5 separate regions of the Homo sapiens genome follow, and all the other regions are linked to region 1. Evidence: promoter capture Hi-C in human tissues and cell types (Jung and others, 2019). All regions are on one chromosome and are shown on one strand. The core of a region is centred on a gene start or on the middle of the fragment in contact, and the rest is flanking DNA. Distances in the headings are between cores, read along the strand shown. Region 1 holds the start of LYZL2 (lysozyme like 2). Region 2 has its middle 130 kb from the start of EPC1. Region 3 has its middle 120 kb from the start of KIF5B. Region 4 overlaps KIF5B (kinesin family member 5B). Region 5 overlaps ARHGAP12 (Rho GTPase activating protein 12).

Region 1 (5,047 bases), core at 1,526-4,025:
TATACTTCCCTGGTGACAATGATATTGATCATCTTTTCATATGCTTATTTGTCATTTGGATTTCTTATATGATGAAGCGTCTGCTTAAATCAGTTGCCCATTTTTTAATTGGGTCATATGTTTGCTTATGGTAAAATTTTAAGAGTTCTTTATATATTCTGAATACAAGGCTTTCATCAGACATGTGATTTATAAATATTTCTTCCAGTCTGTAGCTAGTCTTTTCATTCTCTTAACAGTGTCTTTCAAAGAGCAAACATTTTTAATTTTGATCAAGTCCAACTAAACGTTTTTTTTTTCTTTCATGGATTGTGCTTTTGTTGTTGTGTCTAAAATGTTATTGCCAAACCCAAGTCCTGCTGATTTTCTATGTTTACTTATAGAATTTCATAGTTTCATTTTTTACTTTTATGTCTTTGATCCATTTTAGATTAATTTTTATATGAGATATAAGGTATGTATTCTTCAATATGCCTTCTTTTATTTTGTTGGTTTTGAACATGTGTTTTGAGCATAGACAGTCTTATTTTAGTACCATTTGGTGAAAAGAACATCATTTTTCCATTGAATTTAATTAGCATCTTTATAAAAAATGTTGTTGACTAAATATTCATAGATCTATTTCTGGGTTCTCTCTTCTGTTCCACTGGTCTATGGGTCTATCTTCCCACCAATATCATTCTCTCTTGATTACTACAGCTTTATATTGTCTTAAAATCATGTAGAATGAGTCCTTCAATTTTGTTCTTTTTCTGAATAGTTTTGTTTATTGTAGTCCATTTGCCCTTCCGTATAAGTTTTAAGATCATCTTATTGATATTTTCAAAACAATTTTCTGGGATTTTAATTGGAATTCCATTAAATCTATAGATTAAATCTTAACAACATAGAATTTTTAAATTCAGGAACATGGTATTTCTTTTCCACTTAGGTCTTCTTTAGTTTTTCATCTGTCTTACAGTTGTCAGAATATATATCCTGCACAGATTTTGTTAGGTTTACATTTAAGTACGTCATATTCTTGTGTGTGCTGTTGTAAATGATATTTTTTATTTTAGAAGAATCTAAAATATTTTGATTCCTAGTATATAAGAATAGAAATGGCTTTTGTATATTTACTATGTATCCGAAAACTTGCTAAACAAGCATTTTTGAAAAAAAAGACAATCTGTCTCTATTTTCTCATTGACTATAAAATTCCTATTTCAAAGCACTTTGAAAAAGATGTTTGAAGAAAAACCTATGTATTTTCTCGTATTATAGACAATTCACAAGAAAAAGCACACAGGCCAGATGCCGTGGATCATGCCTATAATTTCAGCACTTTGGGAGGTTGAGGCGAGCAGATTGCTTGAGATCAGGAGTTTGAGACCAGTCTGGCAGACATGGTGAAACACCATCTCTACTAAAAATACAAAAATTATCTGGGCGTGGGGGCACATGCCTGTAATACCAGCTACTCGGGAGGCTGAGGCACGAGAATCGCTTCAACCTGCGAGGTGGAGGTTGCAATGAGCCGAGATCACACTACTGAGCTCCAGCCTGGACAACAGAGGGAGACTCTGTCTCAATTAAAAAAAAAAAAAAAGAGAGAGAGAGAGAGAAAAAAGTCCACAAATGGCTTCTGAAGATAAGAAAAGATGCTCAGACAGCTTGAAATAAGGGAAGCTGAAATTGAAACTTTGCTGACAAATTATGTTTCATCTCTAATATTAGCAAATATCTTAACCTTTGGTAATAGGGTATGCTAGCCATCTTCGTCATACAAGCCCACGTGGAAGGCAATTTGGCAATATCTAGCAAAATTACAAAATTACAGTCCTTAACCCAGCAATTCAATTTCCAGGAATGTATCCTACAGATATTCTTGCAAATGTACAAATGACAAATGTACAAGATTACTAATTGTAATATGTTTATCATAGAAGAAAAAAATACCTTAAGTGTGAGTCAATATGGAATTGGCTAAATATGTTATATCTACACAATGTAATACTATATAAACTTAAAACTAGATTTCAACAAGATCTTTGCATTATTTGCAGATGGAATTTAATAAAATACAATAATTAGTTAGGTACAACTAACAACAAACTTATACTGAGATCTACATATTCCAATGAGAATTCATTTCAAATGTGTCATTAAATCTGAACACAGAAATAAATGGACCTTCAAACTAGCTCTTTATTGAGTCACAAAGTGTTAAGCCAAATTTTTAAAAAACAATGAAATCATGTTAATTATACATAAAAATTTTTTATTTCTTTTGTGGCCCTCCTTTGACAATATTTTATTAATTAACAATATAACTATAGCAAAGAAATGTGCTGTTAATTAATTTTTAATGTTAATTTCACCTCTCATTCATTTTCAGATTTTAGTTTTGTGTATGTTGATAATTTATGTAGCATATTAGTACAGAGGTACAGAAGTGTGATTTATAATTTAATATACATCTAAAGAGGATACATGCTTAACTTTATTAATGGAATTTGTGATAAAGTTTGCAGACTGTTGCCTTAGAGAAGAGCTCTCACTTGGACGGGAGGCCCTGGCCAAGTTGTGTAGTGAGGACAGTTGTTGAGAGGAAAAGAGAAAAAACGAGAGGTATTAAGGCCCAGAAGAGAGTTAGCACCTGCTTCAGAACACAAGCGTGCAGGATGATATAGCTTTTAGTGCCAAGAAGTAGAATTCTAGCATCTCTAGGTGGTGAGAAACAAAGGACTAAGAATTTTTCTTTCTCTAACACTCTAAAGAAAGGTTCTTGAGCTAGGAAAGGATTACTCGAGCCTTGTTAGAATCAGACATGGCTTCAGGGGATGCAGGACGCTCCCCTGAGCTGCCTGTCACCGACTAAGTGGAGCAGTGTTTCTTCCGCAGACTCAACTGAGAAGTCAGCCTCTGCGGCAGGCACCAGGAATCTGCCTTTTCAGTAAGACCTAAATTACTCTTATGAAGCCACCTGTCCCTGAGAACCAGCAATGGCAGGTTCTTGAAGGATGTAGAACATGATGCTTGGGGTTATCATTGCTACGGGTTTTGTTTTGACTTGTTTGAGATCAGTTAACATTCTAAGGCAGAGGATGGAAACCAACCTTATTTGTAAGCTCTGCATCTTTTTTTTTTTTTTTGAAACAGGATGTCACTCTGTTGCCCAGGCTGGAGTGCAGTGGCACAATCACAACTCACAACAGCCTCAACCTCCCAGCCTTAAAAGATCCTCCCACCTCAGCCTCCCAAACAGGTGGGACCACAGTCACACACCACTATGCCTGGCTAATTTTTGTGTATTTTGTAGTGACAGAGGTCTACCTTTGTTGCCCAGGCTGGTCTCAAACTCCTGGCTTCAAGCAATTTGCCCTTTTCACCCTCACAAAGTGCTGAGATTACAGGTGTGGGCCACCATGCCCAGCCTAAGCTCTGCATCTTAAACCTCGTTTGTCTGTCCCTCACAGCTTAGCACAATGCTGTACACCACGGACTGGCATGATCTCTCTGAAAAGGGCCAGATAATAATATGTTAGGCTTTGTGGTCTATACAGCCTCTAACACAGCTACTCAACTCTGCCACTGCAGCAGGAAATCAGCCACCAACAATATATTACCAAATGATGAGAGTAGCTATGTTTCAATAAAACTTTACATACAAAAGCGGGCCTGGTTTGCCCACGCTTGCTATTCACGTTTGTAATGTACATGCCCCTCATGCAATGCAGTTCCTTATCTTATTGCTTAGTCACCTTAAAGCCCTGCTTGTTACTCGGTGCGGTGGCCTTGCTGATGACTACTTATCCCTGTTTTGGGCCTAGCCTTTCAATGCAGGAATCCAGCCCCAGGGAGAGAAACTAATGACTAGAGAAGTTTCCAGGCAAGTGCAGAAAATGACACGGGATGAACATATGTAAGAACATCAAGTTCAGGATCCCGAGTAGTTGTCAGAAATTTCACTTCACCCCATCCCAGCAAGGCTGTTGTGTTTGGGGAAGACATTATTTTAAGAGGGGAGGAGATTGTGGAAAATCAGTAGGCAGCAGGAGACAGCGCTCTTGATCCTACTCCCATTTCAGACGATTCTATGGGGGCCTCTTTATTGTCCCTCTGCTCCCCCAGGTGCTTTCCTCCTTTCATGAGGCTTTGTCCTCCATCCCTCTTGCTCCCCAGTCAGGTGCCAGACTTTTAGGAGGCCGCCCGGAGCACTGGTTGTGAAGCTTAGCAAAGCAATGCATTTGCAATCTAAGATAAAACACTAGTACTTTGGAAGCAATGCTCCCACATTTTGAAATGCATCAAGAAAAGAAAAGGAAAGATTAGGTGCTTAATCTTCACCCTTCAATAAACCCCCAAACGATGAATCTTTTTTTTTTTGAGGCGGAGTCTCGCTCTGTCGCCCAGGCTGGAGTGCAGTGGCGCAATCTCCGCTCACTGCAAGCTCAGCCTCCTGGGTTCACGCCATTCTCCTGCCTCAGCCTCCCGAGCAGCTGGGACTACAGACACATGCCACCACACCCGGCTAATTTTTTTGTATTTTTAGTAGAGACGGGGTTTCACCGCATTAGCCAGGATGGTCTTGATCTCCTGACCTCGTGATCCGCCCGTCTCGGCCTCCCAAAGTGCCGGGATTACAGGCGTGAGCCACCGCGCCTGGCCTAGACGATGAATCTTAAAGTTTTCCATTCAGGTCCACGTGTATTTCATCTCTGGCTGAAATGGGGTGTCTGTTTCTACACACCCAGTTGATCCTTGAACAAATGTAGGGGTCGGGGTGCCAATGCCTGCTCAGTTGAAAATCTGCATGTAACTTTTGACTCCCCAGAAGCTTAACGACTAATAGCCTACTGCTGACTGGAAGCCTTACCAATAACATGAACAGCCAATAAACACATATTTTGTACGTTCTATGTCTATACTGGATTCTTACAATAAAGTAAGCTAGAGAAAAGAAAATGTTATTAAGAAAATCATAAGGAAGAGAAGATATATTTACTATTTGTAAATATTAACTATTTGTTAATAGTAAATATTTACTATTATATTATATTTACTA
Region 2 (5,047 bases), core at 714-3,213, 1.6 Mb before region 1:
TTTCTATTTTTCCCTAAATATTGGCCGGTTTGAGAAATAAAGAGAAAGAGTACAAAGAGAGGAATTTCACAGCTGGGCCTCTGGGGGTGACATCACATATTGGTAGGACCGTGATGACGACCCCAAGCTGCAAAACCAGCAAATTTTTATTAGGGATTTTAAAAGGGGAGGGGGTGTACGAACAGGGAGTAGGTCACAAAGATCACATGCCTCAAAGGGCAATAAAGATCACAAGGTGAAGGCAAAATTAGAACTACTGATGAGGGTCTATGTCCCGCTGTGCACATATTATCTTGATAAACATCTTAACAGGAAACAGGGTTCGAGAGCAGAGAACTGGTCTGACTAGAATTTACCAGGCTGGAATTTCCCAATCCTAGTAAGCCTGAGGGTACTGCAGGAGACCAGGGCGTATTTCAGTTCTTATCTCAACAGCATAAGACAGACACTCCCAGTGTGGCCTTTTATAGACCTCCCCTGAGGAATGCATTCCTTCCCCAGGGTATCCATTATTAGTATTCCTTGCTGGGAAAAGAATTCAGCGATATCTCTCCTACTCACACGTCCATTTATAGGCTCTCTGCAAGAAAAAAAATATGGCTCTATTCTGCCCGACCCTGCAGGCAGTCAGACCTTATGGTTACCTTCCCTTGTTCCCTGAAAATCACTGTTATTCTGTTCTTTTTCAGGTGCACTGATTTCATATTGTTCAAATACATGTTTTACAATCAATTTGTACAATAGTGGTCCTGAGGTGACGTACATTCTCAGCTTAAGAAGATAACATGATTAAGAGATTAAAGACAAGACAGACATAAGAAATTATAAAAGTATTAATTTTAGGAACTGATAAGTGTCCATGAAATCTTCACAATTTATGTTCTTCTGCCTTGGCTCCAGCCAGTCCCTCCGTTCGGGTTGCTGACTTCCCACAGCATGCATGCATGTGTCTTTATGGTAGAATGATTTATATTCCTTTGGGTGTATGCCCAATAATGGGATTACTGAGTCAAATGGTAGTTCTGTTTTAAGTTTTTTGAGAAATTGCCAAACTGCTTTCCACAATGGCTGAACTGATTTACATTCCCACCAACATCTGTTATTTTTTGACTTTTTAATAATAGCCATTCTGATTGGTGTGAGATGGTATCTCACTGTGGTTTTGATCTGCATTTCTCTAATGATCAGTGATGTTAAGCATTTTTTCAAATGCTTGTTGGCTGTGTGTATGTCGTCTTTTGAAAAGTGTCTGTTCATGTCTTTTGCCCACTTTTTAATGGGGTTGTTTTTTGCTTGTTGATTTGTTTAAGTTACCAAGGAAAGCAATTGAACAGAAATGTGAAGGGTGAGTAAAGGAAACCACAGAGTTCCCTAATATGGAGGGTGAAGCTTGTGGAAGGGAACATGGGCCTGCAAGGCTTCACAGGACGGCAGGGGCAACCCTGAAGGCCTTTGTGTGCCAACCCCAGAAGTTTAGATTGTATCATGTGGTTAGCAGGGAGTCACTGAGTAACTTTGTTGTGGGAAGTAAAATACAGGTTGAGTGTCTCTTATTCAAAATGCTTGGGATGAGCAGTGCTTCAGATTTCGGATTTTTTCAGATTTTGAAATATTTACATGTACTTAATGAGATATCTTGGGGTTAGGACCCACGGCTAAACATGAAACTAATTAATGTTTTAACGAAACAGAGTCTGAAGGTAATTTTATACATTATTCATACATTTTATACAATTCATACATCCATACGATTTATACATTAACATTATTCATTAACATTTTATATACACCTTATATGCAGAGTTTGAAGGTAATTTATGCAATATTGTAAATAATTTTGTGCATGAAACCAAGTTTGTGTTAAGTACTTATGTGTGGAATTTTCTACTTTTGGTGTCATGTCGACACTCAGAAAGATTCTGATTTTAGAGCATTTCAGATTTCAGATTTTTATATTAGGGATCCTCAACCTGTAATCAGATTTGTATGTTGGAAAAAAAATTATTCAAGCAGGAGCAATGTGAAGAGACCATTGGAGTAGAAAATGTTAGAGGCAGGGACGATGGCGTGAGAGCCATGCAGACCTAAACCCGGGCAGGACCTACAGAGAAGATGCGAGAGAGAAGGAATGGCCAGGTAGAAGAGTTTGCTGGACTTGGCGATGAATGGGATGTGGAGAGAAGGGGGAGACCCCCAAACCTACCAGATTTCTAGATATCCTGCAGTAGGTTCCACTCTTTCAGTCAAACCAGAACAGCATCCTTTGCAGCCATACTGACACTATCATGCAAATTGACAGGAACCATTTGGTTTCCAAATCAGGCAACTGTTGAATGCCTTGTCTTTGGAAATCAGTATTTCATTCACAATACTGCAAATGCCTGCTAATGAGTGTGACTTGAACAGATGTTAAAATAATGTTTTGGGTAACTAGCGTGCTCTATGAACAAGGTTAGAATCTTCCCATTACAATTTTCCACCACCACACACCTGGCATCTTTGCTGATTGAAACTGTTTGATATCATTCACCATAAATCCTTCTTATCTGGCTAATGCAGCATGAAATTATGTCAATTGAAGCAAAACATAATACACAATAAACACTGGCAAAACCAGTGACTATGACAGCAGCTTTGCATATGGAGTACAAAACAGGTTTTTGGTTTTTTTTTCTTTCTTGGAACATATGGCCAATTCTTTTCTTAAGTGAAATGCATAAAACAAAATAAGGAATGTTTGCTAAATGAGCATTGTAAAGTAAAAATTCACTGGTGATGGAAATAGCAATAAGGTGCACAAAAAGGATCATGGATAAAATTTTCTCTGTCAGAAAGTGGTTTTGACAACTTGGTGTCTTGCAAGTCTACGCAGATCTACTACACCAAATACTCAAGACAAACCTTCAGGGGCAGTCACCGAAGACACACAACTCTCCCATCCTCTGCAGAACTTCTTACTTCTTTGCTCTTACTTAATTTAACAGTTAATCCTTAATAATAACATTTACTGGCCAGGCACACTGGCTCACACCTATAATCCTAGCACTTTGGGAGGCTGAGGCAGGAGGATTGCTTGAGGCCATGAGTTTGAGACCAGCCTGAGCAACATAGCAAGACCTTGTTAATATAAAAAATAAAGAAATGGCTGGGTGCAGTGGCTCAGGTCTGTAATCCCAGCACTTTGGGAGGCCAAGGTGGCTGGATCACCTGAGGTCAGGAGTTCAAGACCAGCCTGGCCAACATGGTGAAACCCTGTCTCTACTAAAAATACAAAAATTAGCTGGGCGTAATGGTGGGCACCTGTAATCCCAGCTATTTGGGAAGTTGAGGAAGGAGAATTGCTTGAACCTGGAAGGCAGAGATTGGAGTGAGCCAAGATCGTGTCATTGCACTCCAGCCTAGGCGACAAGAGTGAGACTCCATCTCAAAAATAAATAAATTAATTTAAAAAATTAGTCAGATGTGGTGGTGTGTGCCTTTAGTTTCAGCTACTTGGGAGGTTGAGGTGAGAGGATCACTTGAGCCCAGGAGTTTGAGGTTGCAGTGAGCTGTGATCACGCCACTGCACTCCAGCCTGGACAGCAGAGCAAGACCCTGTCTCAAAAATAAATAAAACAAAACAAAAAAACCATTTATTGAGTACTTACTATCAGCCAGGTATGAGCTAAAAGCTGTGCACATATGACCTCAATCTTCTTAACAATATTGTAAGGCAATTATTATTATTACTCTCTTTTGTTGTTGTTGTTGTTGTTGAGGAAATCAAGGCACAAAGAGCTTTATAAATGAGTCTAAAGCTGGATAGCTAGGAAGTGGCAGAGCGAGAATTCAGACCTGGAGAATTCTAAGTGCAGGGTGACTCCACTGCCTGTAAGTGATAGGAGAAGCTTGGTGGCCACAGGGCCTGGAGTCATATTTTAAGTTCATGCCTGAAACAAGGTCTCTGCATGAGAAACCAGAAAACCTACTACGTTCTTCATATCATTGTAATTCAGCTAGAAAAAATAATTGAAAGTGATACTTCATTTGCAAGAATAAACCCATCACCACTGATAAAAAGAAAGCTTCAATATTTGCATAGGTTCAAGAATAATCTGTTCTCCTTTTTACCAAAAATATAATGGAAAAGTCAACTGTGCAATCAAGACCAAACCTGATATGTTATAATTGAGAAGGATTCTCTTTCAGTCAGGTCTAAACAGGTACTGCAGGTGAGACCTGGTAGGGTGTCTTGGGCTTGGTAGTTGCTCAGTATTCGAGGGCTCTAGGTTTGTAGAGCAAACTCAAGTTGGCCTAATAGTTAATTAATATTCTTGCTACATCTCTGTAAACAATCAAGCCAACTATCTAGACAAGCCCTTTTGTGATTGGGACTCATCTTTGGAGATTATTTTTTATTGCAAATGAGGGAGATTGTTAGAATAATTATGCAAAATTGAAAATAGGCAAAAGAGATTTCTGAGTGTTCTTTCAGTGTGGTGCTAGGTTTGCTCTTTGATTTAATTTCGATCAATTGGGCTGTTTTACAATTCCTTAAAGGTTAACCTAAACAGGTCTAGTAGAGGTGCAAATAGTTTCTGTCTAGTGGAAAAGATAAGCCCAAAAGTTAAAATTTATTGCCTTGTAGGATATTAAAGAGTTTTTAAAATCTAACTTGTCAATCTTATCCTAACAATCAAAAGATTTTAAGGCCAGGTATGGTGGCTCACGCCTGTAATCTCAGCTCTTTGGGAGGCTGAGGCCGTAGGATTGCTTGAGCTCAGGAATTCAAGACCAGTCTGGGCAATGTAGCAAGACCCCATCTCTACAAAAAATAAAAAATCGGGCCAGGCACGGTGGCTCATGCCTGTAATCCCAGCACTTTGGGAGGCTGAGGCGGGCAAATTGCTTAAGGCCAGGAATTCAAGACCAGCCTGGCTAACATCTCTACTAAAAATACAAAAATTAGCCAGCGTTGTGACACACACTTGTAATCTCAGCTACTTGGGAGGCTGAGGCACTAGAATCACTTGAACCCAGGAGGCGGAGGTTGCAGTGAGCTGAGATC
Region 3 (5,047 bases), core at 1,191-3,690, 1.5 Mb before region 1:
GCAGTGGCATGATCTCGGCTTACTACAACCTCTACCTCCTGGGTTCAAGTGATTCTTGTGCTTCAGTCTCTTGAGTAGCTGGGACTACAGGAGTGTGCCACCATGCCCAGCTAATTGTTGTATTTGTAGTAGAGACAGGGTTTCAACATGTTGGCCAGGCTGGTGTTGAACTGACCTTAAGTGATCCACCCTCCTCGGCCTCCCAAAGTGCTGGGATTACAGGTGTGAGGCAGCGCACCTGGCCCCTCTTCCATTTTTTAACACCTTCAAAGAGCAGCTCCTTCTCCTATGAATCCACCTTTATGCAGGCACCCGGTTCAATACCTCAAAATCAATCCACTCCTGGCTTTCCTTGCTGCCCATATCCAATCAGTTGCTGAGACCCTATTGGTACTGAAATGGTTCTCTCATATTTTCCTTCCCTCTCTGTTGCTTGCAGAGCCATGTCAGTTCTTGCTGGCAGCTGGACTATGACAGTGACCTTCTACTTGGCCCACCCAGCTCCAGTTTCTCCCTTCCTCTCTGTTCTACCCGACTCAACGGCTGTCACTGGATAAAACCTTCAATGGCTCCCTATTACCTACAGAATAAAGCACAAATTCTGCTGCTTGGTTTTCAGCCTCTTCATGACCTAGGCCCAACTATCTTTTTTTTTTTTTCCTTAACTGATCACTTTTTTTTTTTTTGAAGTGAAATTTATGGCCAGGCACAGTGGCTCATGCCTATAATGCCAGCACTTTGGGAGGCTGAGGTGGGCAGATCACTTGAGATCAGGAGTTCAAGACCAGCCTGGCCAACATGGTAAAACCCCTTCGCTACTAAAAATACAAAAATTAGCCGGGCGTGATGGTGCACACCTGTAATCCCAGCTACTTGGGAGGCTGAGGCAGGAGAATTGCTTGAACCCGGCAGACAAAGATTGCAGTGAGCGAGGATGGCAGCACTGCTCTCCAGCCTGGGTGACAGAGCGAGACTCTGTCTCAAAAAAAACAAAAGAAATTTACATAATATTAACCACTTTTGTTCATTTTGAATGACCAATTCAGTCACATTTAGTGCACTCAAATATTGTGCAACCACCAGCTCTCTCAAGTTTCAAGATTTTTTCCTTTACCTGTAAAAGGAAGCCCTATACCCACTAAGTAATCACTCCCCACTTCTCTGTCCACCCACCTCTTGCTAACCTCTAATCCACTTTCTGTCTTGATGGATTTGCCTAACCTGGATGTTTCATATAAATGGAATGATACATATATGGCCTTTTGTAACAGGCTTCTTTCAGGTAGCTTAATGTTTTCAAGGTTCCTTCATATTGTAGCATGTGTCAGTACTTTGTTCCTTTTTATGGCTGAATACTACTTCGTTAAGAGTTGGCTGGGCACCGTGGCTTACATTTGTAATCCCAGCACTTTGGGAGGCCAAGGTGGGTGGATCACAAGGTCAGGAGTTTGAGACCAGCCTGACCAACGTGGTGAAACCCCGTCTCTACTAAAAATACAAAAATTAGCTGGGCATGGTGGCGCGCACCTGTAGTCCCAGCTACTCAGGAGGCTGAGGCAGGAGAATCGCTTGAACCCAGGGAGCAAAAGTTGCAGAGAGCCGAGATCGCACCATTACACTCCTGCCTGGGCTACAGAGCGAGCCTCTGTCTCAAAAAAAAAAAAAAAAAAAAAAAAAAAAGAGTTGGCTGGGCGCCGTAGCTCACGCCTGTAACCCCAGCACTTTGGGAGGCCGAGGTGGGTGGATCACTTGAGGTCAGGAGCTTGAGATCAGTCTGGCCAACACAACAAAACCCCATCTCTACTAAAAATACAAAATTTAGCCGGGTGCAGTGGTGGGCGCCTATAATTGCAGCTACTCAGGAGATTGAGACAGGAGAATCGCTTGAACCCGGGAGGCAGAAGTTGCAGTGAGCCGAGATTGCGCCACTGCACTCCAGCTTGGGTGACAGAGCAAAACTCTGTCTCCAAAAAAAAGTATACCACATTTGTTTATCCATTCATCAACGGATGGGCTGTTTCCACCTTTGGGTATCACAAATAATGCTGTTGGCTGGGCATGGTGGATCATGCCTGTAATCCCAGCACTTTGCAAGGCCAAGGCAGGCAGATCACCTGATCTCAGGCTCAACATCACAAAACCCTGTCTCTACTAAAAATACAAAAAATTAGCCAGGTATGGTCTTATAATCCCAGCTACACTGGAGGCTGAGGCAGGAAAATTGCTTGAGCGCCGGTGGTGGAGAATGCAGTGAGCCAAGATTGCATCACTACACTCCAGCCTGGGTGATGGGAGTGAAACCCTGTCTCAAAAAAAATTAAAAGCTTAAACAAATAAATAATGCTGCTATAAACACTTGTGTATAAATTTCTGTGTGGACATATGTTTTCATTTCTCTTGGGTGTATACTTAGGAGCGGAATTGCTGGGTCATATGGAAACTCTATGTTTAACTTTCTGAGAAACTGCCAGACTGTTTTCCACAGTGGCTGCACCCTTTATACATTTGCACCAGCAATGCTGAAGGGTTCCAGTTTCTCTATACCCTCACCAACTCTTTTTTTTATTTGAGCCATCCTAGTTGAGGTGGTATCTCATTTTGGTTGTGATTTAATTTCCCTAATGACCAATGACGTGGAAAATCTTTTCATGTGCTTTTTGGCCATGCGTATATCTTCTCTGGAGAAATGTCTATTCATGTCCTTTGCCTGTTTTTTAACTGAGTTATCTGTTTATTTTTTTTGTTTTCTTTTTTTGAGATGGAGTCTCGCTCTGCTGCCCAGGCTGGAGAGTGTGGTGGTGCAATCTCGGCTCACTGCAACCTCTGCCGCCTGGGTTCGAGCGATTCTCCCACCTCAGCCTCCCGAGTAGCTGGGACTACAGGTGCCCGCCATGCCCAGCTAATTTTTGTGTTTTTAGTTAAGACGGGGTTTCGCCATATTGGCCAGGCTAGTCTTGAACTCCTGGCCTCAGGTGATCCACCCGTGTCAGCCTCCCTAAGTGCTGGATTACAGGCGTGTGCCACCATGCCAGGCCCTATGTTATGTTTTTGTTGTTGAGTTGTAAGAGTTCTTTATATATTCTGAATATTGAACCCTTATGAGATATATGATTTGTTAATATTTTCTCCCATTCTGTAGGTTGTCTTTCACATTCTTGATAATGTCCTTTGATGCAAAAGATTTATATTTATTTATTTATTTGGGGGCTTTCCGGCAAAACTGGAAAGCCGGCTAGACAAATTCTAAAAGAGCTGTAACACTCAAAAGATTTTCTTTTAAGAAAAAGAAAGGGAAGAGGAAGAACTGTATCTCACTTTTGTTGCTTTCTATATTTTATATATATATGTATATATACACATATATATATACATATATATACACATATATATACATATATACACATATATATATACATATATACACATATATATACATATATATATACATATATACATATATATACACATATATACACATATATATACGCATATATATACATATATATATACATATATACATATATATACACATATATACATATATACACATATATACATATATATACACATATATATACACATATATATACACATATATATACATATATATATATATATGTATGTATGTATATTTAAAACCAAGGCTGGGCACAGTGGCTCATGCTTATAATTCAGTGCTTTGGGAGGCCAAGGTGGGAAGATATCTTGAGGTCAGAAGTTCAAGACCAGACTGGCCAGGACAGTGAGACCCCGTCTCCATAAAAACTTTTAAGAATAGCCAGGTGTGGTGGTGCATGCCTGTAGTCCTAGCTACTTGAAAGGCTAATGTGGGAGGTTTACTTGAGCCCAGGAGTTTGGGGCTGCAGTGAGCTATGAGTGTACCACTGTTTCAGCCTGGGTGACACAGTGAGACCCTGTCTGTAAAACAAAAATTAAAAAAATTAAGAAACTCCAGAAATTTCTGTGTAACAAAATGCCCATTTGCCCTTGAGGTAGTTCTACTCTACTCTAATAAGCATAACAAACAAAACCAGGACCTAAAACCACTTGTCAATGGGACTGTTTCTTGTATTCTCTTTTCCCTTTCTTCTCTGTTATGATCTGAAGCTTCTTTTTTTTTTTTTTTAAGACTTAGTCTCGCTCTGTCGCCCAGGCTGGAGTGCAGTGGCGCGATCTCGGCTCACTGCAAGCTCCGCCTCCCGGGTTCACGCCATTCTCCTGCCTCAGCCTCCCGAGAAGTTAGGACTACAGGTGCCCGCCACCACGCCCCTGGCTAATTTTTTATATTTTTAGTAGAGACGGGGTTTCACCATGTTAGCCAGGATGAGCTGGATCTCCTGACCTCGTGATCCGACCGCCTGGGCCTCCCAAAGTGCTGGGATTACAGGCGTGAGCCACCACGCCCGGCCATGAGCTGAAGCTTCTAATACCATGTGCATGTTAAGGTTCCTATTCCTGCCTGGCTCTTGTTCTTTTCAGATTGTCAGTTAGCAGCTCTATTGTTAAGTACAAATCACTTTCATTCCCCTTATTAGTCCCGGACCCCAGAGAGGTGGCCTTTCCCCTGGGGTGGGAGGTGTGGGGGGAGGTCCCTTATGTTGTGGGGGGTGGGACGCGGCAGGTCAGAGGGGTCCCTGCTCCATCTCAGGCACAGCCCTGCCTTCCTTCACACCCTTTGCGCAGTTGTTCTTTTCTTTTCTTTTTTTTTTTTTTTGAGACAAGATCTCACTGTGTCACCCAGGCTGGAGTGCAGTGGCAAGATCTTGGCTCACTGCAACCTCCGCCTCCTGGGTTCAAGTGATTCTCCTGCCTCAGCCTCCCGAGTAGCTGGGATTACAGGTGCGTACCACCACACCTGGCTAATTTTTGTATTTTTAGTAGAGATGGGGTTTCACCATGTTGGCCAGGCTGGTCTCAAATTCCTGACCTCAGGTGATCTGCCCACCTCGGCCTCCCAAAGTGCTGGGACTACAGGCGTGAGCCACCGTGCCCGGCCTTATTAAGCCGTTTTAAGAATTAATGGAGGCCAGGCGTGGTGGCTCACGCC
Region 4 (5,047 bases), core at 1,900-4,399, 1.4 Mb before region 1:
TCAAAGATTATCTAATCTGAGAAATCTCCTAAGCTATTTCTTCAGCCAACATTGCTAATTTATTGTTCTGACCTATCTTTAACATAGATACTAGCTGGGCATGGTGGCACATGCCCGTAATACCAGCTACTGGGGAGGCTGAGGCAGGAGAATTGGTTGAACCCGGGAAGCGGAGGTTGCAGTGAGCTGGGATCAAGCCACTGCACTCCAGCCTGGGTGACAGAGTGAGACTCAGTCTCCAAAAAAAAAACACCACAACATAGATATTTAGATATTTTATATATTTTTAAAAGAAGCAGATTTGCTTATATAATGTGTTTAAAACTCAGTCTCTGTTTTCTAACAGTTACAACATCAACATTATGCATTAGCCAATTTTAGAAGGTTCCTGTTTTCTAATGTAGCAAAGGGGACTAACAGATTAATGAACTACAAATTTACATTTAAATTGGTTATTTTCAAGAGTACCTACAAACTACAGATAAAATTTGATGTCTCTCTAATCAAACTCTTAAGAGTAGTACTCAAGAAATGGTGGTATGCTTGGCAAATAAGATCATGAAGCTTTTCATGTTCTTTTTTCTTTTTTACTGGTTATTGATGACATATGAACATTTTAGAAAATGTAAAGAAAATTATAAACTTGTAATTTTGTTTCATTCTTTTGAAATCTTATGTATAGGTTAGTAAAACTGGAGCTGAAGGTGCTGTGCTGGATGAAGCTAAAAACATCAACAAGTCACTTTCTGCTCTTGGAAATGTTATTTCTGCTTTGGCTGAGGGTAGTGTGAGTATACATGTCTTCTATCTCCCTGTTACCTTATGGGGCATTATTTAAATATAGGTGTATATGTGTGCCTGGGTGTGTATGAGAGAGAGAGAGAGAAAGAGAGATTGAGATTCAATGTGTTTGAATCAGTATGTGTAAGTTAGTTGTCTTTTGGGAGTTTATTTTATAATAACATTTTATTATACTGGTCTTGTTTTCTTTCTTTGTTTTTGTATGCAGACATATGTTCCATATCGAGATAGTAAAATGACAAGAATCCTTCAAGATTCATTAGGTGGCAACTGTAGAACCACTATTGTAATTTGCTGCTCTCCATCATCATACAATGAGTCTGAAACAAAATCTACACTCTTATTTGGCCAAAGGTTTGTTGTTAAGAAAGTACAAAACCTAAATTTAGATAGACCTTTTGTTTATAAAATGTAGGAAAATGTGAGCTGTTATTCCAACCTGTACATACTGTTTTGTGCTAGACACACTCAGTTTGAATTGATGACAGATAATACAAGGTGGGTCTGATTTTTAGACTGCTTGGTTTAAGTTTTAGTACACATTAAAGTCAGATGTAATTTTAGTCAAATTTGTGTGACAAGCTGTAATTTGGTATTAAAGAAAATAAGCATTTGAATCAAATAATGAGGTCAAAGCCTGGCAAACATAATCCTCTGTTAAGCCTGTAGACATGCATGACAGGTTAATATAATCTGTATGAGATGATTAGGAAAATCAGTAATGATGATTCCGTCTTTGACTTTCAACAGTAATTTCTTAATTCAGCCTTGCAAACAAATTGGAAAAATATAGGCCTTTGTCTTTTATTTTTAGTGGTTTGTTGATTTTTTTTTTTTTAAAGCTATTCACAGATTTTGGAGCAGACTCAAATTTAGTTGAGTTGTAAATAACGTCATATGTTGCGGCTTTTAGTATTTAGTCTAAGAGATTACTGGACAAGCATAAGTTTCTTAGCCATATATACATATATTCCATATAGATAAAATTAAAAATAATTTCAGTCTCATCCTTTTTTTCCTCCAATTACATCTCTTAGGGCCAAAACAATTAAGAACACAGTTTGTGTCAATGTGGAGTTAACTGCAGAACAGTGGAAAAAGAAGTATGAAAAAGAAAAAGAAAAAAATAAGATCCTGCGGAACACTATTCAGTGGCTTGAAAATGAGCTCAACAGATGGCGTAATGGTAATAACTTAAGAATTTGTCATCTTCAGTTTGTTAAATACAGATTTAGAGCATAGAAACGTAGAAATAGTTCAGCAAAATCAGTAAGTGACTAGATCAAGAAATTTAATAGACATCGAAATAATTTTTAAAAAAATTAATAGAAATCCTGGAGCTGAAAAATAAAATGAGCAAAATGCAAGAGACCATCAGTAGTAGAATTAATTAAGCAGAAGAATCTGAACTTGAAGACAGATTATTTGAAAATAACACAGAGAAGAAAAAGTTTGAAAGAACGAGGCTGGGTGCACTGGCTCATGCCTGTAATCCTAGCACTTTGGGAGGCCAAGGTGGGCAGATCACTTGAGGTCAGGAGTTAGAGACCAGCCTGGCCAACATGTTGAAACCCCATCTCTACTGAAAACACCAAAATTAGCCTGGCATGGTGCTGAGCGCCTGTAATCCCAGCTAATCAGGAGTCTTGAGGCAGTAGAATTGCTTGAACCCTGGAGGCAGAGGTTGCAGTGAGCCTAGATTGCACCACTGCACTCCAGCCAGGGTGACAGATTGAGACTCTGTCTCAAAAAAAAAAAAAAAAATTTTTAAAGGAATGAAATTGAAATTAGCTTTAGACGTCGTTTTTTTATTAACCACTTTATTTTCTTATTTTAGGGGAGACGGTGCCTATTGATGAACAGTTTGACAAAGAGAAAGCCAACTTGGAAGCTTTCACAGTGGATAAAGATATTACTCTTACCAATGATAAACCAGCAACCGCAATTGGAGTTATAGGAAATTTTACTGATGCTGAAAGAAGAAAGTGTGAAGAAGAAATTGCTAAATTATACAAACAGCTTGATGACAAGGTAGGTATTGCTTGATTTAGGTCTGCTTTATATTAGGATACTATTGACATGGGTGTTTTTATTTTCTAACTTTTCTCATTTCAGTGCTGTGGGCACTTAGGATCTTTATGCATCTTCCTTGATTTCTGTTAATCTTGTAAAAATTATTGTATTAACAAAATAAAAAGTCATAATTTCAATTTCTGTGTGGAAACTGTATGAGCATGTATCTTTTCTTCCCCCTCTTTTTAAGCTAAAAGAACTTTATAAGGCAGCAGTCCCCAACCTTTTTGGCACCAGGGACTGGTTTCAGGGAAGACAGTTTTTCCGTGGATCAGGTCGGGGAGATGGTTTTGGGATGAAACTTCCACCTTGGATTATCAGGCATTAGATTCTCATAAGGATCCTCTAACCTAGATCTCTTGCATGCACAGCTGATAATAGAGTTCGCGCTCTTAATGATATTCTAATGCTGCTGATCTGGCAGAAGGCGGAGCTCAAGTGGTAATGCTTGCTGCTCACCTCCTGCTGTGCTTCTTGGTTCCTAACAGGCTTCCAGTACTGCTTTGTGGCCTGGGGGCTTGGGGACCCCTGTTCTAATGAAAATTTGGCATTGGGTCATTGGGAGCCTCAATGATACCAATTGTTAGAATCAGGGCTCTGAAGACTCCAATAAAAGATGATGTGAGAGATTAAGGGAAACACAATAGAGTGGAAATAATATCTTCCTGCTTTGCATATAGAAGTAATGTCAATAGTATGAATAATAGCAAACTAAGAACGTAATAGAATGGAAGGCAAGAACAAGAGTAGTAAAGAGATTAGAAGAAAATATTTTCTTAAGTTGATATTTTTAATATATTTTAAGCAGAGATGGCAGGTTCGAAGTACATGACCATTATAAGTATTGATAATTGAAAGAAATTCCTTTTGTTTTGCCATTTTCTTAAAAGAGATTAAAATAAGCAATGTTGAATTTAGAGAAATGGTTTTGAAATATTTCTGGGGAGTAGTAATCTTATAACCTGTATTGGGAAACAACTAGAACCAGGTTGTTAGCTACTGGTTAACCGGATACTTCACAATTCTAGGATGAAGAAATTAACCAGCAAAGTCAACTGGTAGAGAAACTGAAGACGCAAATGTTGGATCAGGAGGAGGTGAGTTGAATACCTTTTACATTGCTTCCAGAAAAGCTTTATAGTTTTGTTTTCTGAATCCCATTGACTTTGTCTTTAATAGTTGTATAATTTTGGGTATGACTGTCTTTGTGGGAATAAGAATGTCACATGGATAAAGTGAATTTTTACTTATTCATCGTATCTACCCAGATACAATCTGTTGTTCATTTCCGCCATCTTTTTTTTCACCCTGGTTCTTGACATTTCTCTTCTTGTCACTTACTTTGGATCCTCATTTTATCTTCTCACCCAGCAGAGCAGGGGGATAATTGAAAAGCAGTCCTTTAAATTTTTTTGTGGGGGTGGTGGGCAGGGTGAAGACAAAGACTGCTTCGGTAAGAAAGAGATACTCTCCATCAGTGAACTTAATCCTGGTCAGATCATCTTTCAACTATAGCATTTCATATTTCAACTATAGCATTATTCCTCAAAGGGGCACTATTGATATTTTGCATTGGATAATTTATGTTATTCTGTCCTTTGTATTATAGGACATTAAACATTCCTGGTCCCTACTCCTAAATGCCATTAGCATTCTACCCTATTATTAACACTCCCACAGATTTCCGGATATCCCTACAGGAGAGCCACTAATGTGGATGATTGTGGTTTTCTCCTAACTAGTCTCTTGGCATCCCTGCAGTTCAGATTTTATGTGCTGATACCAGGTTTTGTTTTTGTTTTTGAGGCGAAGTCTTGCTCTTGTTCCCCAGGCTGGAGTGCAGCGGCGTGATCTTGGCTCACTGCAACCTCCACCTCCCAGGTTCAAGCGACTCTTCTGCCTCAGCCTCCCGAGTAGCTGGGATTACAGGCGCCCGCCACCACGCCTGGCTAATTTTTTGGTATTTTTAGTAGAGACGGGATTTCACCATGTTGGTCAGGCTGGTCTCAAACTCCTGACCTTGTGATCCGCCCGCCTCGGCCTCCCAAAATGCTGGGATTACAGGCGTGAGCCACCCCGCCTGGCCCAAATCTAAATTTTTAAGCAACTCTTGTAGAATGCCATTTTCCTTTATTACATTAATTTGCATGTGACTGCAGTCGATCTCTCCTAG
Region 5 (5,047 bases), core at 648-3,147, 1.2 Mb before region 1:
GTCCTCTGTTTCAAAAACGGGTAAATTTTAATGCAAACATTAGAATGGATGTTTTAAACACTTCTTTAGAGGTTACTTATTCACAGTGTAGCTTCATTTTGGGGATAAGTTGGGAACTTAGTATGAATTTGCAGAATATTAGGTATATTGATTTTGAAATGTAAAGGTTTTTTAAATCATCAGGCTTCTTGTAGCATGACTAACAGTTTTTCTGTAATTTTTAGGTGTGTTCATGAAAACAGAATTAACTATCCCTATGGCATATTTCATTATGTTTGGATACTTTCAGTCCTAAATTCCTTTATAAATAATCTCAATTTATCAGTCATAACAAGCATAATATTTTGGTACTACAAGTTACTATAAAATTGGTCTTTGTTGAATTTAAAGGTGTAGTGTTAGAAACAGCCTTCATACATGTGTATAAGATGGACTAATAGAAAACAACGAAAGTAACAGACCAGTTTCTAGTTTCTAGTTTGTAAGGATCTTGTGTTGAATATAGAGACCACATTAAAGGAATGACATTCTGGAGTCTGTGCTATTGAAGATATGCTTGAAAATATATTAGTGTTGAGATTAATCTAGGTAAGAAAAATACCTAGAGATTTCTAATAGGAAAAATTCACTCAACCAAGAACCAGATTACAATTCAGGATAAATAGGAATCTCCCAAATACCATATATACTGTTCTAAGTCAAACCATTGTTGAACCAACTCTACCGCCTCTTCATACCAGAACAAATAGGATGATTATTTTGATAATTTATGCTTAAAATTTCTTACTCCTTTTTCTTTTTTTCGACATCATAAAATGTCAAACAATCTTACTCCTTTTTAATCTCTCAATTCATTTTTTAAAATTAATTTTCAATCTCTTGCTTTAAATAACTTGCATGCTTTCATCTCATTGTCCCAGAGTTGCAAGAATATGATTTTTTTGCGATTAGAGATTTACTTATTTTTGGTAGAAATGTCTTTTTTACCCTCTACCTTACCCTTTGCAAACAGATGCATAAGTTTCTTAACATAAGGCAGTATTTTAGGTTTTGAAAAAGGGACTGACTACCAGAACAAACTAGCTAATATGTGATAAGGGATGAAGTGTGTATAACCTGAATTGTAATCACAGCAACCTAATACAGATGCTCTGCAACTTAGGGTGAGGTTATATCCCAGTAAACCCACATAAGTTGAAAATACCATTAATTGAAAATACCACAAGGTGAAATGCATGTAATACACCTAACCCACTGTACATCATGGCTTAGCCTAGCCTACCTTAAATGTGCTCTGAACATTTACATTAACCTACAGTGGGGCAAAATCATTCAGTAACATGGTACACTGTAGAATATCAATTATTTACCGTTGTAATCTGTTTACCCTGGTAATCAGGTGGCTGACTGGAAGCTGGGGCTAGATGCCTCTGTGCAGCATCATGAGAGAGTGTCATATTGAATATTGTTAGCCCAGGAAAAGATCAAAATTTCAAGTATGTTTTCTAGTGAATGCCTATCACTTTCCCATCACCTTAAAGTTGAACAATCATAAGTCAAGGACCATCTATTATTGTATAGCAAATGTTGTTGTGATGACATAGGTCCTAATTCAGTTTACAGATAACCTTGGAAGGGTAGCCGTATGTCTGTGTGTGTATGTGTGAATGCATCTGTTTCTGCCTTTTTTTTCTGTTTTTACTAAAACTATTCATAGATGTATAAGGTGTATATTTATATGCATATATCTAAATATAGATAAATGTATACATGTAAAATTATTTCTTGTTTATAATAGTTATAATTGTACATATGTTATTACTGTATTTGTGGTTTTTATTTCTGTGGGACTGAATGTGCTATGAAAAATATAATTATCATTTTATTCAGTTACTTATTTTCTACTTTATGAATCATCAGATCTTCCATCTTTCTCATACTGTTTTACTATCAGACAGTCTTAGGAATCAAAAATTGATCTGAAGTTGTCAGAAAAAAATACTTAAGTGAGATTTGGATCTTAAGTTAAATTTTTTTGAAGTTTTTTATTCAATGTGATTTTAATATTTTCTCCATTAATAGTACCTTGTTTGATTTATAAACTTGTCCCTTCAAGGGCTTCCATGTAAACTTTCACTGCTACTAGTTTCTGTATTTACAAATTGTGTGGGATATAAACCCGAAGACATTTTTCCAAATCAGTAAATGTTGAGTTAATAGTTTTTTTGCAAGTGTTACTTAAAACAAATTCCCAGGTTGGTTGACAGCACCTTCTCCAGGTTTATAGACATAGAAAACTAGAATGATACCTACGTGGAGATGAATGTTCAAAGGAACTTTTTGGTTTGATAGAAACAAATTAATAATAGGTAATGGTGTATGATTTAAAAAATTCTCTTTTTCTGAAATTATTCAAAACATCTAAGGAAATGGAGAAAATTTAAGTGGAGGTGGGCTACTGCTACCAAAAAAAAGTTTTTCAGTCTTACCCTCCATGAATAGTCCTATCAACATCTGTAATAGAAATCATATTCTGTGTTTTAATATTGACAAAGCAGACTGCTTAAAAAAAAAACACGTTATTGGTTTGGTCTTATGATACTCTTGTAGGCTTAGACATTAAAATTTTTTTTTCTGGGGAGTTATTAATATTTAAATCGTAGGTTTCTTTCTTGAATTTAAAATATCTTATTTCTAATTTTTGGAAAGTTTTCTATAAATTACCTTAAATACTAATAGCAATTTAATTTCTTATATAGCTTTTGACTAAAATTAAATTCTCATTCTGGCATTTGCTAAGGTATTTCTGTGACCTTGCCTAATCCTGGGTATTTATACTTACCATACCAAGAGCAAGTTAGTATCATGATTATAACTTATTTATCCAGAAGTGTTTAGGTTTTACTTATTTTAATATGGTTAATTCAAACTGATATAACATCATGATTTTAAGGCAGCTTGTATCATTTCTTTTGAGTAATTCCATATGCATTATTTAAATTTAACTGTAATTGCTATAAAAAGCACCATATTTTATAAACTTTTAATAACGTTTGTAGTTTTAAAATCATTACCTTATTAGCTTGGAGCTGAATATAGAACGAAAATAACGAGGAAAAAATTTGTTATTCTCTCTTACTAAGCTCTCCCACTGTGAGTAGAGGCAGAAATATAATTATATAAAATAGAGTAACTTTTTTCATTACTTATTTCTTGTAGGAATCTCCAACTGCCTCAAAACCCTGCTTTCCTGAAAATGAGTCTTCTCCCTCCTCACCAAAGCACCAAGATACAGTTAGTATGATAGAAGCATATCTTATAATGTAGTCCAGTTATTTCAATCAATTTTAGCAAGTTAATTTACTCTTAATGTAATGTTTAAATGAGCTTCTATTAAATTTCATTGGTTTTTCTAAAAAATCACAATCAAAATAAGTTTAACAATCAGATTTTATTGATTTAAAAGTCCCCCTTTTGTTTAAAATATGGTATCTTACATGATTAAATTATATACCATATTTTTAAGTGATGAACTTATATTTGTTTTTAAAAATAAATATAAAATTCCCAGACAATACTATGACATTATACTTTACTCTTTTTTTCCTCAGGCCAGCAGTCCAAAGGTAAGAAGCAATCCTCTCCTTCTTAATAGGCATAGACACCTTCATTTTCTATGCTGTAAAATATATTGCCAAGTCTGTGCCAGATGAATATTGGAAATAATATAGCTTAACTGTAAGTTCTCCTAAACTGGAAAACCTCCATGTGACTTCTGTTAAGATACCTGTCTTAACTCTGATGAAATTTTACTTAATTTCTGTATTTATACTCATTCCCAGTCTTTTCTGTTGCTGATCATGCTATTCCCCTTCAATGGCTTCTGGGTTTTTTTTCGTTACCGTTTTTTAAATAGAGACATGGTTGCGCTCTGTTGTCCAGGCTGGAGTGTAGTAGAACCATCATAGCTCACTGCAGCCTCAACCACCTGCCCCTCCCCCACCAGGCTTAGGTGATTCTCCCGTCTCAGCCTCCCTAGTAGCTGGGACCACAGGCATGCACCAGCACGCTCTGCTAAATTTTTTTTTTTTTTTTTTTTTGAGATGGAGCCTCACTCTGTTGCCCAGGCTGGAGTGCAATGGCATGATCTCGGCTAACTGCAGCCTCCACCTCCCAGGTTCAAGTGATTCTTCTGTCTCAGCCTGCCGAGTAGCTGGGATCACAGGCATGCGCCACAACACCTGGCTAATTTTTTGTATTTTTAGTAGAGACGGGGTTTCGCTATGTTGACCAGGCTGGTCTCAAACTCCTGCCCTCAAGTGATCCACCCACCCTGGCCCCCCAAAGTGCTGGGATTACAGGCATGAGCCACTGTGCCTGGCCCGCTTGGCTAATTTTTTAAAAATTTTTATGGAGATAAGGGGTCTTGCTTTGTTGCCCAGGCTGGTCTTGAACTTGTGGCCTCAAGTGATATGCCTGCCTTGGCCTCCCAAAGTGCTGGGATTACAGATGTGAGCTACCACACCCAGCCTGTTTTCTTGTAGAATGAAGCCCTAAAATTCTTAATGAGCATGACAAGGCTGTGCATGCTCTGGCTCCTGAGTGCCTCCACCACCTCATCTCATATTTCCTTTTCCCTTCTTGCTTGTTGTCCTACCACACCACCCTTCTCTCAGTTCCTCAAAGGAGCCTGCCTTTCAGATCAGGGTCCTTGTGTGTGTCATTTCTTCTGCATGCTGAAACATTCTCCCCGACATCTTTGCCTGGTTAGCTTCTATTCATTCATCAGGGCTTAGTTTGAACTTTTATTTCCTCAGAGAATTTTATTCTAATTCTCTAGGTTAGGCAAAGTTTTCCTATAATACTCTTCATAGTATTTGATTATATATTATTCGATTACATAAAATAACTTGTCATTATTTATTTCTTATAGGAACCTCCAACTCTCTATTAATGTCTGTCTTCCCCACCAGACAGAGTAAAGCTTCATTAGAGCAGGAACAGAGTTACCCCATTACCTCCCACAGTGCCATATAATAGCTGCTCA

The links. Contacts are between HindIII fragments. The study calls those that stand out against the background at their distance.
Region 2: a fragment that was not itself captured here is called in contact with the fragment with the promoter of LYZL2 in region 1 in 1 of the 25 tissues and cell types used here (dorsolateral prefrontal cortex).
Region 3: a fragment that was not itself captured here is called in contact with the fragment with the promoter of LYZL2 in region 1 in 2 of the 25 tissues and cell types used here (lymphoblastoid cells and spleen).
Region 4: a fragment that was not itself captured here is called in contact with the fragment with the promoter of LYZL2 in region 1 in 1 of the 25 tissues and cell types used here (mesenchymal stem cells).
Region 5: a contact is called between a fragment that was not itself captured here and the fragment with the promoter of LYZL2 in region 1, in 1 of the 25 tissues and cell types used here (lymphoblastoid cells).

The regions. Positions count from the first base shown.
Region 1 is chr10:30,627,481-30,632,527 of GRCh38, reverse strand. LYZL2 (lysozyme like 2) reads left to right here and starts at 2,775. Exons shown (of 5, transcript NM_183058.3): 1 at 2,775-2,935. The HindIII fragment of the contact is 10,435 bases long and covers 1-4,515 here.
Region 2 is chr10:32,214,783-32,219,829 of GRCh38, reverse strand. No RefSeq gene overlaps it. Among named protein-coding and RNA genes, the nearest start is that of EPC1, 130 kb to the left of the region's middle. The HindIII fragment of the contact is 4,027 bases long and covers 1-3,976 here.
Region 3 is chr10:32,171,900-32,176,946 of GRCh38, reverse strand. It overlaps the pseudogene RNU7-22P. Among named protein-coding and RNA genes, the nearest start is that of KIF5B, 120 kb to the right of the region's middle. The HindIII fragment of the contact is 5,563 bases long and covers 1-5,047 here.
Region 4 is chr10:32,031,630-32,036,676 of GRCh38, reverse strand. It overlaps KIF5B (kinesin family member 5B), which reads left to right. Exons shown (of 26, transcript NM_004521.3): 9 at 683-787; 10 at 1,010-1,155; 11 at 1,839-1,987; 12 at 2,639-2,832; 13 at 3,903-3,971. Among named protein-coding and RNA genes, the nearest start is that of KIF5B, 22 kb to the left of the region's middle. The HindIII fragment of the contact is 3,042 bases long and covers 1,629-4,670 here.
Region 5 is chr10:31,837,884-31,842,930 of GRCh38, reverse strand. ARHGAP12 (Rho GTPase activating protein 12) reads left to right here. Exons shown (of 20, transcript NM_018287.7): 8 at 3,220-3,294; 9 at 3,612-3,626. Among named protein-coding and RNA genes, the nearest start is that of ARHGAP12, 88 kb to the left of the region's middle. The HindIII fragment of the contact is 6,668 bases long and covers 1-5,047 here.